2 separate regions of the Homo sapiens genome follow, and region 1 is linked to region 2. Evidence: promoter capture Hi-C in 16 types of primary human blood cells and fetal thymus (Javierre and others, 2016). All regions are on one chromosome and are shown on one strand. Each heading gives the region's core, a stretch centred on a gene start or on the middle of the fragment in contact. The rest is flanking DNA. Distances are from core to core; before and after follow the strand shown. Region 1 has its middle 8.5 kb from the start of CFAP20DC. Region 2 holds the start of CFAP20DC-AS1 (CFAP20DC antisense RNA 1).

Region 1 (6,566 bases), core at 2,690-5,189, 230 kb before region 2:
GAAAAAATAACCAAAATTGAAAGACTATTAGTAAGATTAACCAAGAAAAGAAAAGAGAAGATCCAAATAAGCTTGATTAGAAATGAAACAGGAGATATTACAACTGATACTTCAGAAATACAAAAGATCATTCAAGGCTACTATGAACACCTTTATGCAAAGAAACTAGAAAACCTAGAGGAGATGGGTAAATTCCTAGAAATATACAACCTCCTAGATTAAACCAGAAAGAAATAGAAACTATGAACAGATGAGATTGAAGCGAGACTGAAATGGTAATAAAAACACTGCCAACCAAAAAAATTCCAGAACCAGACCAATTCACAGCTGAAGTCAGCTGAGTTCTCTCAAACATTCAGAGAATAACTGGTACCAATCCTATTGACACTATTCCAAAAGATAGAGAAAGTGGGAATCCTCCCTAAATCATTTTGTGAAATCAGTATCACCCTAATAACAAAATCAGGACAGGACATAACAACAACAACAACAACAACTACAGACCAATGTCTTTGATGAACACAGATGCAAAAACCTTCAACAAAATACTTGCTAACCAAATCCAACAGCATATCAAAAAGATAATCCACCATTATCAACTGAGTTTCATACCAGGGATGCAGGGATGGTTTAACATACGCAAGTCAATAAATGTGATACGCCACATAAACAGAAGTAAAAACAAAAACCACATGATCATCTCAATAGATGCAGAAAAAGCATTTGACAAAATCCACCATTGCTTTACAATAAAACCCTCAGCAAAATCAGCATAGAAGGGACATACCTTAAGGTAATAAAAGCCATCTATGAGAAACACACAGCCAACATCATACTGAATGGGGAAAAGATGAAAGCATTCCCCCTGAGAACTAGAACAAGACAAGGATGGCCACTTGTACCACTTCTATTCAACATAGTACTAAAAGTCCTAGCCAGAGTAATCAGACAAGAGAAAGAAATAAAGGGCAACCAAATTGGTAAAGAGGTAGTCAAACTGTCACTGTTTGCTGATGATATAATCATATACCTAGAAAACCCTAAAGACTCATCCAAAAAGCTTCAGAACTGATAAGTGAATTCACTACAATTTCAGGATACAAAATCAATGTATGCAAATCAGTAGCTCTGCTATACACCAACAACAACCACGCTGAGAATAAAATCAAGAATTCAACCCCTTTCACAATAGCTGCCAAAAAAAAAAAAAAACTTAAGAATATACTTAACCAAGTAGGTAAAATATTTCGACAAGAAAAAAACACTGCTGAAAGAAATCATAGATGACACAAACAAATGGAAACAAATTCCATGCTTGTGGATGGGAAGAATCAATATTGTGAAAATGATGATACTGCCAAAAGCAATCTACAGATTCAATGCATTTCCCTTCAAAATACCACCATCATTCTTCACAGAACTAGAAAAAAATCCTAAAATTCATATGGAAACAAAAAAGAACCTGCATAGCCAAATCAAGACTAAGCAAAAAGAACAAATCTGGAGGCATCACATTACCCAACTTCAACCAATACTTGAAGTCTACAATCAACAAAACAGCATGGAACTTGTATAAAAATAGGACATAGAACAATGGAACAGAATAGAGAACCCAGAAATAAAGCCAAATGCTTACATTCAACTGATCTTTGACAAAGCAAGCAAAAACATAAAGTGGGGAAAGGACATCCGATTCAACAAATGGTGCTGGGATAATTGGCAAGCCACATGTTGAAGAATGAAATTGGATCCTCATCTCTCACCTTATACAAAAATCAACTCAAGATGGATCAAAGACTTAAATCTAAGACTTTAAACCATAAAAATTCTAGAAGATAACATCAGAAAAACCCTTCTAGACATTGGTTTGGGCAAAGACTTTATGACCAAGAGCCCAAAAGCAAATGCAACAAAAACAAAGATCAACAGATGGAACTTAATTAAACTAAAAAGCTTCTGCACAGCAAAAGAAATAATCAGCAGAGTAAACAGACAACCCACAGAATGGGAGACTATATTTGCAAACTATGCATCTGACAAAAGACTACTATCCAGCATCTACAAGGAATTGAAACAAATCAGCAAGAAAAACAATCCCATTAAAAAATGGACAAATGGTATGAATAGACATTTTTCAAAAGAAGATATACAAATGGCTAACAAGCATATGAAAAAATGTTCAGCATCACTAATTATCAGGGAAATGCAAATCAAAACTACAATGCAATACCACCTTACTCCTGTAAGAATGGCCATAAGGAAAAAATCAAAAAATAATAAACATTGGCATGGATGTGATGAAAAGGAAACACTTTTACACTGCTAGTGGGAATATAAACTAGTACAAGCGCTGTGGAAACAGTGTGGAGATTCCTTAAAGAACTAAAAGTAGATCTACCATTTGATCCAGCAATCCCAGTACCAGGTATGTACCCAAAGGAAAAAAATCCTTATATGAAAAAGACACTTGCACATGCATGTTTATAGCAGCAAAATTCACAACTGCAAACACATGGAACCAGCCCAAATGCCCATCAATCAATAAGTGGATGAACAAAATGTTATATATATAGACACACACACACACACACATACCATGGAATACTACTTAGGCATAAAAAGGAATGAAATAATGGCATTTGCAGCAACCTGGATGGAATTGGAGACCATTATCCTAAGGGCAGTTACTCAGGAATGGAAAACTAAACATCGTATGTTCTCCCTCATAAGTGGAAGCTAAGATATGAGGATACAAAGGCATAAGAATGATACAATGGACTTTGGGGACTTGTAGGAAAGGGTGTGAAGGGGATGAGGGATAAAAGACTACACATTGGGTATAGTGTATGCTGCTTAGGTGATGGGCATACCAAAATCTCAGAAATCACCACTAAAGAACTTATCCATGTAACCAAACACCACCTGTTTCCCAAAAACCTATTGAAATAAGAAATAATAATAATGGTTATTATTCATATGTGTTCTGAAAAGGTGTTCTGAATGTGTTTGTATGCATTAGGCACACACTATCAGCACACATGCAGAAGTCTGTGTGAATGGCAAGAAAATATCCTTTCCATTAACTTATCAGAAACACAAAAAATATCAGACATCAGAAGACCTTGCAAGATGAACATCCTGGATTCCCTTCTACTGCCTTTTTCCCACTTCGCATTTATCTTGTCTTCCCTCTTCTTTGTAGCTTTTTCTATCCCTCTGAACTCCCTCCTGGGTTCCAGTTCCATCCTAGAAGCATAGCTGAAGGAGAATTCTAAGTTTCACCTGTCTCTCTATCCTAGTGGTCATGGTAGGTCCTTACCCTGGGCCCTGGGGTAAGAGGTGGGTGAGGTGGGGTTGAGAAGTCCTTCGGGTTCTTCACACTGGAACTTCTATGAGATGAATAGACTTTTCTCTACATATTATTGACTGTGTTCCATAGCTTAACGGCATTTAATATGCTAAACAAAATATCTGCCTCCTGTGGGGTGAGAAAGGGGAAAAGAGAGAAGGAAATCCCATTCTTCTGCACATATTCTTGGTGGTGAAATATAAGCTAGTACTAGGGCACTTGAGTGGAGGTGGAACTCAGATGCTTTTGGACAGTTGAGTTAGACAACTTCCCTCTCTATGTGGTCTAATTTGAACTAAGATTAGATATTTTAGGGGACTGGTGTGAATTTCTTCATACACATAACCTATTTGCATCTGGTGGTTTTATTGAGGGCCAAGAGCCTCCCAGGAGAAAAATATTTAAACTCTGTTGACATATGTATGCCTACCTGACAGAGCTATGCCTAACTGACAGAAAATTGGGGAAATCAGATTTTAGGAGGGGCTTCAGAAAAGAATTCACCATTAGGAAAGAATATACAATGAGTTAGATGAGTAACAGGACCTGAAATGATAAGGAAATATTGGTATGGGTAGGGCAAATAGTCAAACTTGTCCCAACCCAACCAACCTCATGGAATAGGCCTGTGAGTGTGTGTGTGTGTATGTATGTATGTATGTGTGAATTTTTTAAATTACAGAACTTTGGGACCCAGTCAGCTTCGCTGTGGGGACTTCCCCACCCCAAACACCTTATCTTACCTGGAAAAGACATCTTTCTCTTGGTAAATGAAAGAAGATACACATCGAAAAATCAGTATGGACAATGATGGTGGTAGGCAGTGTAAGTGGTACTCAGGGCGACAGTGTAGATCACTTTATTTAAATAGTTCCAATTGGGGTCTGGGCTTCAGAGTTAGGTCTGGACTAGCTGCATCATTTGAGTGCAATAGCTTTATTGCTAACCACTGAATACTGGGGCTCAAATAATTTTGCAGAAAAGACTTTTCTTCTTCCTGGCAACTGAGTGAAATTCACAATAACCATTCAGTTTGCTTCCTAAGAATAAAAACACAAAATTCTAGATTTACTGGTGTTAATGCCCCCCAGCCAAAGAACATCAGGGATATATCAGTAGTTGAAGAAGCTGGGTTCATTACTCATTGCAACAAGGAAGAAAATACACCATTGGGGAACCTTGGGTATGCTAGTAAGAGGATGTTAGAACTTACTATAGGATTTGGGCTTATGTTAGCTGATTTAGGGGAGGGTTTAGGGAAGTAGAGCTTTGCTCTGGATTGGATCCTGTCAGGAACCAAGAGTATTTCAATGATTGGGAATATTAATAAATCTTATATATAAGACAGGAAGAATGAAGTAAGGCTTAGCTATAATTGGTAAAGAAGCAGCAGTCACTCATATTAACCACGATAGGGAAATGTTTAGTCATCTTTTTGATTTGGACCATATTCATGTTTTTATCTTGATTCATCATGGTCACAGAGTGGTTTTGTATGATGTTGATATTCTGTGAAACTGTTGGTGTTCAGTAACAATAGCAACAACAAAACACCAAAACCTAGCTGTGAGTGTCAGGCCAGCTTCCAGATGTCTTTGCTTCACTGGTGACATTAGCGAAAGCAGTTACATTCTAATTTCAACAACTTCAAACATGGCAGGTATTCTTTGGCAATAGTGGTAACAATGGCAACTAAGTGGAATCCCTCATAAAAATGTTTGGTCTGAGAAAAAAATGCAGTTAAGTAATCACTTCTGAAGTGATTCCTGGCTACTTAGTATCCTCTTAAAGATCCTGGAAATACACAGGCATCCAATAACATTGGATTTCCTGTTACTAAGCAGGTAAGAGCTTAAAAAATCCAGGCTTGAATATTAAGAGTTAATGAGGCTGGGCGCGGTGGCTCATGCCTGTAATCCCAGCACTTTGGGAGGCTGAGGTGGGCAGATCACGAGGTCAGGAGATCGAGACCATCCTGGCTAACACGGTGAAAACCCGTCGCTACTAAATATACAAAAAATTAGCCAGGCGTAGTGGCGGGCGTCTGTATTCCCAGCTACTCGGGAGGCTGAGGCAGGAGAATGGCGTGAACCCAGGGGGTGGAGCTTGCAGTGAGCCGAGATCGCTGCACTGCACTCCAGCCTGGGCGACAGAGCCACACTCCGTCTCAAAAAAAAAAAAAAAAAAGGAGTTAATGTAAATCCTGGGATAATGAAAAGGGCCTATGATATTTGAATTACACATATGTACATCAAATCATTTAAAGAATGTTAGCGAACCTTTCTTTCATATTAAATTATTCATGTATAGTTAGAGTTTTTAAAAAATATGTCTGGTGTCTGTTATTTGTAAAAAAAAAAAAAAAATCATTATAGTAGATATCTCCTTTTGGCTGCCCAATATCCATCTTCCTCCTTCCCTAGAAGAGGACCCAGAGTTTCCTTTGGGAAACAATCCTTCCCCATTCCTAGTTACATGTTTGGGTGGTACCCCATTCCCAGCCAATCAATATATCTCATCTCCTTGTTTGCCGGGACTGGTTTAAGAATAAGCACTTAATCTAGCCTTAAGCTTATTTATCTGACCAAAGTGTTTATTTCAGAGATAGGCATATCCCCTGAACTGATCCAAATGAAGGTAAACTTCAGGACTTTAGCCCCAAATGCTCTATTTAGCGATATCAGAATGTAAAATTGAGAATGCTATAGCCATTTTGTAAACCTAAAGAGAGCCAGCCTAACGACTGAGGCAACCTAGAGGAAGCAGTGTGGAGAAAGGAAACCTGATGATGTTTCTGACCTCTAGATGCAGCTGGATCTACTCTAGGTTGTTAAGAAATCAATGCCAAGTCCAATGTCATTAAGTTTTCCCCTTATGTTTTCTTATAAGAGTTTTATAATTTTAGGTCTTATGTCTTTGATTCATTTTGAGTTAATTCATGTATATACATTTAAAAAGTAAAGCAAGAGTCCAATTTCATTCTTTCTCATGTAAACATCTAGTTTTCTACAGCCCTTTTATCACAAATCAACACTAACTGGCTTTAGGTTAGAGAAAGTTATCCAAGAAAAACTTGCTACTTAGATCTAACTTGTCTGTTAAAAACCTTGATCATTTATGTCATTGTAAAACAAATTAATACTAAATATCCACTCAATAAATGTATTCCTTTCAAAGATGCATTTGGCAAACGGTCGTTTTTCTAAACCTAAGTGCT
Region 2 (6,162 bases), core at 3,196-5,695:
TCTCCTTTTTATCTCTTAACCCACCCTTCCTAATACCACAGCCTTGGCACTTTTCCTTTTTTCTTTTTTCCCCTTAATCCCATGACAGATTATGCACTTTTTTTTTTCAGTATTTATTTTAGATTGAGGAGGTACATGTGCACATTTGTCACCAGGGTACATTGCATGATACTGAAGACTGGGGTACAAATGATTCATTCATGCAGGTATTGAGCATAGTACCCAATAGTTACTTTTTCAATCCCTGTCCCCTTCCTCCCTCTCTCCTTTAGCAGTCCCCAGTTTCTATTGTTGACATATTTATTTCCATGAGTACCTGATGTTTAGCTCCTGCTTATAAGTGAGAACATGCAGTATTTGGTTTTCTGTTCCTGCATTAATTTGCTTAGGATAATGGCCTCCAGCTGCATCCATGTTGCTGCAAAGGACATGATTTCACTCTTTTTTATGGTTTATGCACTTTATTTTTCATCTGAATTCCTTCAATAGTCCCCTAACATCTCTGTGCCTCCAGTCAAAGCACTGTAACCTGGTGGTTAGGAGCCTCAGCTCTGACGTCAAATTTCCACGGTTGAGATCCAAGCTGTGACCCTTATAAAATGCTTGGCACTGTATCTGAGACATAAGTACTTAATAAATGAAGTTTAGCTGTCATTATTATTATCATTATTATTCACATTAGTGATCTTCCTAAAGCCCAAATCTGATCTGATCTGATCTCTTCATTAGGTAAAGCCTTTCAGTGACTCCCCATCACCTCTTTACCTTGGCATACAGGAGCCCCCATGATCTGAGACTTGCCCTCTCTCCAGCCTCATCTCTCACTGCACCCCACCTTTCACTCCATTCTGTAGTCCCTAGATGCACTCTGCACATTATCCCTGTACCGTGGACCTGATTATCCTCAAGACTTAGCTCTAAAGTCACTGTAGCCCTTCTCCAGGCCTCGTTGTGAAGGATACACCTTCTCTGCCACAAGAGTCAGGAGTATCTCCCTGATAACTCTCACCACAAGCTTGCTTGTCTGTCTCACATTCACTCATTCCACACATATGTTTTTGAGTGGCACACATGTGCTGTGAACTAGGCTGGCTACTGAGGATACAGATAAAGCCTTATCCAAGCTTGAGGTATTCACAGTTTTGGTGGGGAAGCCCAGGTAAACGGCTCACTGTAACTCAGGGTGGCAAGTGATAGAATAACGAGTTATGGGAACACGTGAGAGGGAGTGATTCCGCATGTGGGTTTCAGGGATGCTTTCACAGAGAAGACAACAGTTAAGCCAAAGTTCAAGAATGAGTTCAAGTTTACCATGCAGACAAGAGGGGACTGGAATTCCAAGTTCCAAAAGGAAGCCAAATTAAGTCTGTGGTGGAGGGGACAGTGGGGAGTCTCTCCTTTAGCAAGATAACCTCCTCTTAGTGCCTTCGTTTCTCTGTCAGCTTGCGTAGCACTTGAAATGAGTTTTGCTTGTCTCGCTACCCACCCCCCACCCAACATACACACAAGTGAGCCACTCTGCTCCTGCCACACTGTCAACTTGGCTGTCAGTTGGTGAGCCATGCCCTGTGTTCAGATCAGGCCATGCTCATCTCTTCTCTGTCTGGCAGCTCCTTCTCTATTTAGAAAATGGCTCTTTAATTTCTGTTTTGGTTTTTTGGTTTTTGGCTAATTTTTTATTAAAGACTTATAATTGTTTTGAGCCGTTTTGGGTTCACAGCAAAATTGAGACGAACCCTATTATCAGTGTCCCCCACCAGAGTGGTAATTTGTTACAATTAATGAACCTCCATTGACACATCATTGTCACATTATCAGGGTTCACTCTTGGTGTTGTGCATTTTATGGATTTAGACAAAGGTATAGTGACATGTATCTACCATTATAGTATCATACAGAGTAGTTTCACTGCCCCTAAAATTCTCTGTACTCTGACTGTTTATCCCTCCTTTTGCTTATTTCTGAAGGCCCCAACTCACTTGTCACTGCTTCATGAAACTCTCCCCAACCCTCATCCCACCCTGAACAGAATTATTCGCTTCCCTCTCTGGGTCCCTGTTATCTTCTGGCTCAATTACAGCACTTATGACATTAGCCAACCACTGTTACCACTATCCCCAGGCCTGGTTGTGAATTCCTTGAAGGCAGAACCCTGCCTGTGTTCTTTCATACCTTCTGTGTTGGAGCACAAAGGCTAGCACAAGGCATCACAGCTAGTTGTCAGTCATTACTTGAATGAATCAATCAATAATATTTTTAAAAATTCCTTGTTTACGGATGAGTTTAGGTCCTTTGCAGGGACATGGATGAAGCCGGAAACCATCATTCTCAGCAAACTAATACAGGAACAGAAAACCAAACACTGCATATTCTCACTCATAAGTGAGAGTTGAACAGTGAGAACACATGGACACAGGGAGGGAAACATCACACAGCAGTGCCCGTCGGAGTGTAGGGGGCTAGGGGAGGGATAGATAGCATTAGGAGAAATACCTAATGTAGATGACGGGTTGATGGGTGCAGCAAACCACCATGACACATGTGTACCTATGTAACAAACCTACACATTCTGCCCATGTATCCCAAAACTTAAAGTATAATTTTTAAAAATTCATTTTTTACTCTAAAATAATTTTCGTCAAGATTCCAAAATAAACATCAGCTTTGCTTTGCTTAAATAAATCCTGAGTGATGCATGTAATATTTTCAATTCAAGATTTGATAAATGGATATTAAATATACACCCAAAGGAAAATCTCCTTCTGAGCAGGGCCTGATTGCAAATAGGAAGAAAAAGATGTAGTCCGGTCCCATTCAGTTTAGCATTTTTACCTGACGACTTCACACACATTGCAGTCTGAAGCCAGAAAGCCTACGCAGAGTAAAATGAAGAGTCTTTAGCAAAATCCTTTGTGTTTAACACAAACTTTGATTCCTCAGCATCTGTACAGTTCAGAGTAATATGTACTGTTTAAAAGGTGTTTAGATATAACAAATTAGTCATTTAAAAGTGTAATTAAATGTAACCACATTCCTCATAGCAAATTGGCTTTTGTAGGCATCTCTTGCTAAATAAATCAAGCCTACTGAGAAATCCATTGGCCTTTGACAGACAAATTTTTCAAAGTTTCTAACTTAGAACCAAATTCAATTAAAACAATACTTTACAACTTCTGTGGAAACCAGGCTACAATCAATCAATTTTGGAGAGTTTCTGTTAGGAGTAGCCCTCGTGAGATTTATTCAAAAACTGGGCTCTCGGCAGCCTTTGGAAGGGCACTAGGAGTTAGTTATAATGAATTTTAAGTGAATTTTATCTTGGTGAGGGATTTTGATTGACAATAGCATAAAGCCATGTTGTGTGTGTGTGTGTGTGTTTTCTTTTTTTAAGGAACAGGAACAGCTATCAATGGACACTGCTTCATGGGATGCCCAAACAAATATAAACTCTAGATCAGTCAACCTGGGCTCAAATTCCAGCTCTGCCATTTATGGACATGATCATCTTTGAAATGGAAATAATAAAAGAACCTTCCTAATATTGGCATTATGCAAATCGAATGAGTACATGAAATGCATGTGCCTGGTGCTTAGCAGAGTAAGCTCACACTGACTGTCAACTGCTGTTTCCCCAAGGTTATTCTCCTCAAAGGGCCACTTGAGTGATCAGAACAGAATTTCTAGGACATTTTCCCTTTTTATGACGACTGAGACCTGAAAGAGTAAGCAGAGATTCTGTAGTGTTTGTTTTGATGTGAGTTTAACCATCAGCATACAGACTGACTCCCTCAGATCCTTCCAAATAAACTCCTTCATTATCTCATTATTTCAATATTTCATTTCACTGTCTCTCCTCAAATGTAGATTCAAGAAAAGTAGGTTTATTGTGCAGCTACCCTGTGAGCAGATGCCCCAAAGCTGTCATTCCTTCAGGTTAATAATTAACATAACCTGAACGGGGGCATGGTGGCACAGGTCTGTATTCCCAGCTAATTGGGAGGCTAAGGCAGGAGGATTTTAGCCCAGGAATTCAAGGCCAGTGTGGGTAACACAATGAGACCCCATCTCTTAAAAAAAAAAAAAAGAATTCCCATACCTAATATCAAGCACATAAGTCTCTTTAGCTTACAAAAAAGAAAAGAAAAGCTCATTGCATGCATCCATCAACATGGCATGTTGCAGAGCATAATATTCGGAGAATAACGAGGCAAAATACACTTAATAAAACTGCAGGCATATGGTGAGGTTCTCAGACAAGTTATTTATGGTCTTGATTAACCTTGCAACATTATCGCCATTTTCATAGGTTTTACATAACAACATAAAAATATTATCTTTACCTTTTAACATGGCAGGATTATCTTATCTCCGGTTCTTTTATTTAGCCTTCATTTCGCTCCCTCACCCCAAAATCTCTAGCAGCTTGATCATGGAAAAGCAAAGCTGCTTGTGCTCCGTGGTAGTTAATTATATATGAATACTGTTTTCCTGGCACTAGCACATAGCAACAGCGCCACCAAAAGGCCGAGGTCCTGAGTTTCTGGGATCTGTTCCATTTCTTTGCTCCACAGCATATCAGCGTTTTTGCATGATATTCCTGGTTGCTGTGTATTCAAAATATAATATATTGGCATTTCAGACTCCTTATAATTAATAGGTTTTAATTTGTTCTGATCTACAGATTCATTAACTTCTCAGCTCTCTTTGGGTAGAATGAGTTTTCTTTTAATCCTCCTGAACTAAAAAGGTATGCAGTTGATTGTGCTAAGCTGCAGATAAATCATATGAGCAGATGTTCTTATACAACTATAGAAATGATATACGAAAACTGATATTAGAGTCAGTGTAATAGTGACAATAGAGACAGTATCTGTACTGTCAGGAGGAAATATTGAAATGTGCAAGTTGTTCTGTGTTTAGTGACTATGAAAGTCACCCCAGGAAATAAACTTTTCTTATTCTCAGAGTACTGTCTATTACATTTTATGATTGTCCCAAATTTAGTAACGTGGCAAAACTGATTTTTTAAATTGTAAATACATAGTGACATGTCATGAGAATGAAAACAATGAAATTAATTTATGGTAAGGAGATAGTCATATATATTTCAAATAAATGTATTTCTTCAGGGTCACTTTTTTTTCCTGCCACAAACAGAACTGATTTTGTCATTTTGTTATTCAAAAACTTAAATAGTCACCACTCTAGATGCACTCTCGAGCTGGAATAAACACTACAGACTAGTGGTTGAGAGGGTAAGCTGTGGACTCAGACTGCCTGGGTTCACATTCTAGCTCCACTCTTTCCTGGCAGGCACGATCCTGGGTTAATACCCAGTGTCAATTTCCTCTTCTGTTGAATGTAGTTGTTCATCCTATTTATTTCATAGAATTGCTCTGAGGATCAAATAAGATCATATCTACCAAGAATTAGCATAAGTACTCAATAAATGTCAATCGCCGCTATTATGATGATGGTCGTAGTTCATTGTAGATACTGGTTGTCATCCCTTTGCATCTACTTACGATATTCTCTAGGTATGACTGAATGCCAAAATCAAAACAAATTCTATATTATTTCATTGGTGCTTTCACAGGATGCTACCTACCTAGAAATAGGTTTACTGCTACATATGTTTATAAGCATATTGTAGGGGAGGAAAAATATCTTTTTCTCACCCACCCTGGATTCATCGCCAAGGCCTCTGTTGCAACAAAAGACAGATTAGCAAAAGAAAAACATACAAATTTATTTCATGTAAGTTTTCCATGATACAGGAGTCTTTATAAGGAAATGAAGAACTGAACAAACAGTGAAACTTGAATATTTTTACTCCAGGTTTGATGAAGAGAGGAAAGTGGTGGAGAAATATGATTGGGCAAAGGAGATATGAGCTAATGGAAATAAACGAAGAAAATCAGCAAGGCTTTTGTTCAGATTCTTCTCTGTGTCCCTGTGTCTTCAGAGATAAGGATGTTCCTTTCTTCAGGGGATAGGGACGGCATCTCTCAAATGAGTATCTTATGACCTGCTCCAGGGGGTGTTCAGAAAATCCTAGCTATGTTTTATGACCAGCTGCAGGGGAGAACAGGAGAAGGTGAGAGTGACCTTCCTGCTACTGTAAATGCCATGTCCTGAACTCCATCAATATCCATTTGTAGG

The links. Contacts are between HindIII fragments. The CHiCAGO score rates a contact against its expected background, and 5 or more counts as called.
Region 1: a contact is called between a fragment that was not itself captured here and the fragment with the promoter of CFAP20DC-AS1 in region 2, in 2 of 17 cell types (endothelial precursors and megakaryocytes). The highest score is 7.6, in endothelial precursors.

The regions. Positions count from the first base shown.
Region 1 is chr3:59,055,227-59,061,792 of GRCh38, reverse strand. No RefSeq gene overlaps it. Among named protein-coding and RNA genes, the nearest start is that of CFAP20DC, 8.5 kb to the right of the region's middle. RefSeq lists a silencer at 3,184-3,434. The HindIII fragment of the contact is 3,967 bases long and covers 1,956-5,922 here.
Region 2 is chr3:58,822,754-58,828,915 of GRCh38, reverse strand. It overlaps CFAP20DC-AS1 (CFAP20DC antisense RNA 1), which reads right to left and starts at 4,445. Exons shown (of 3, transcript NR_110820.1): 1 at 4,341-4,445. The region is part of intron 14 of CFAP20DC (CFAP20 domain containing); the gene reads left to right. The HindIII fragment of the contact is 7,858 bases long and covers 1,127-6,162 here.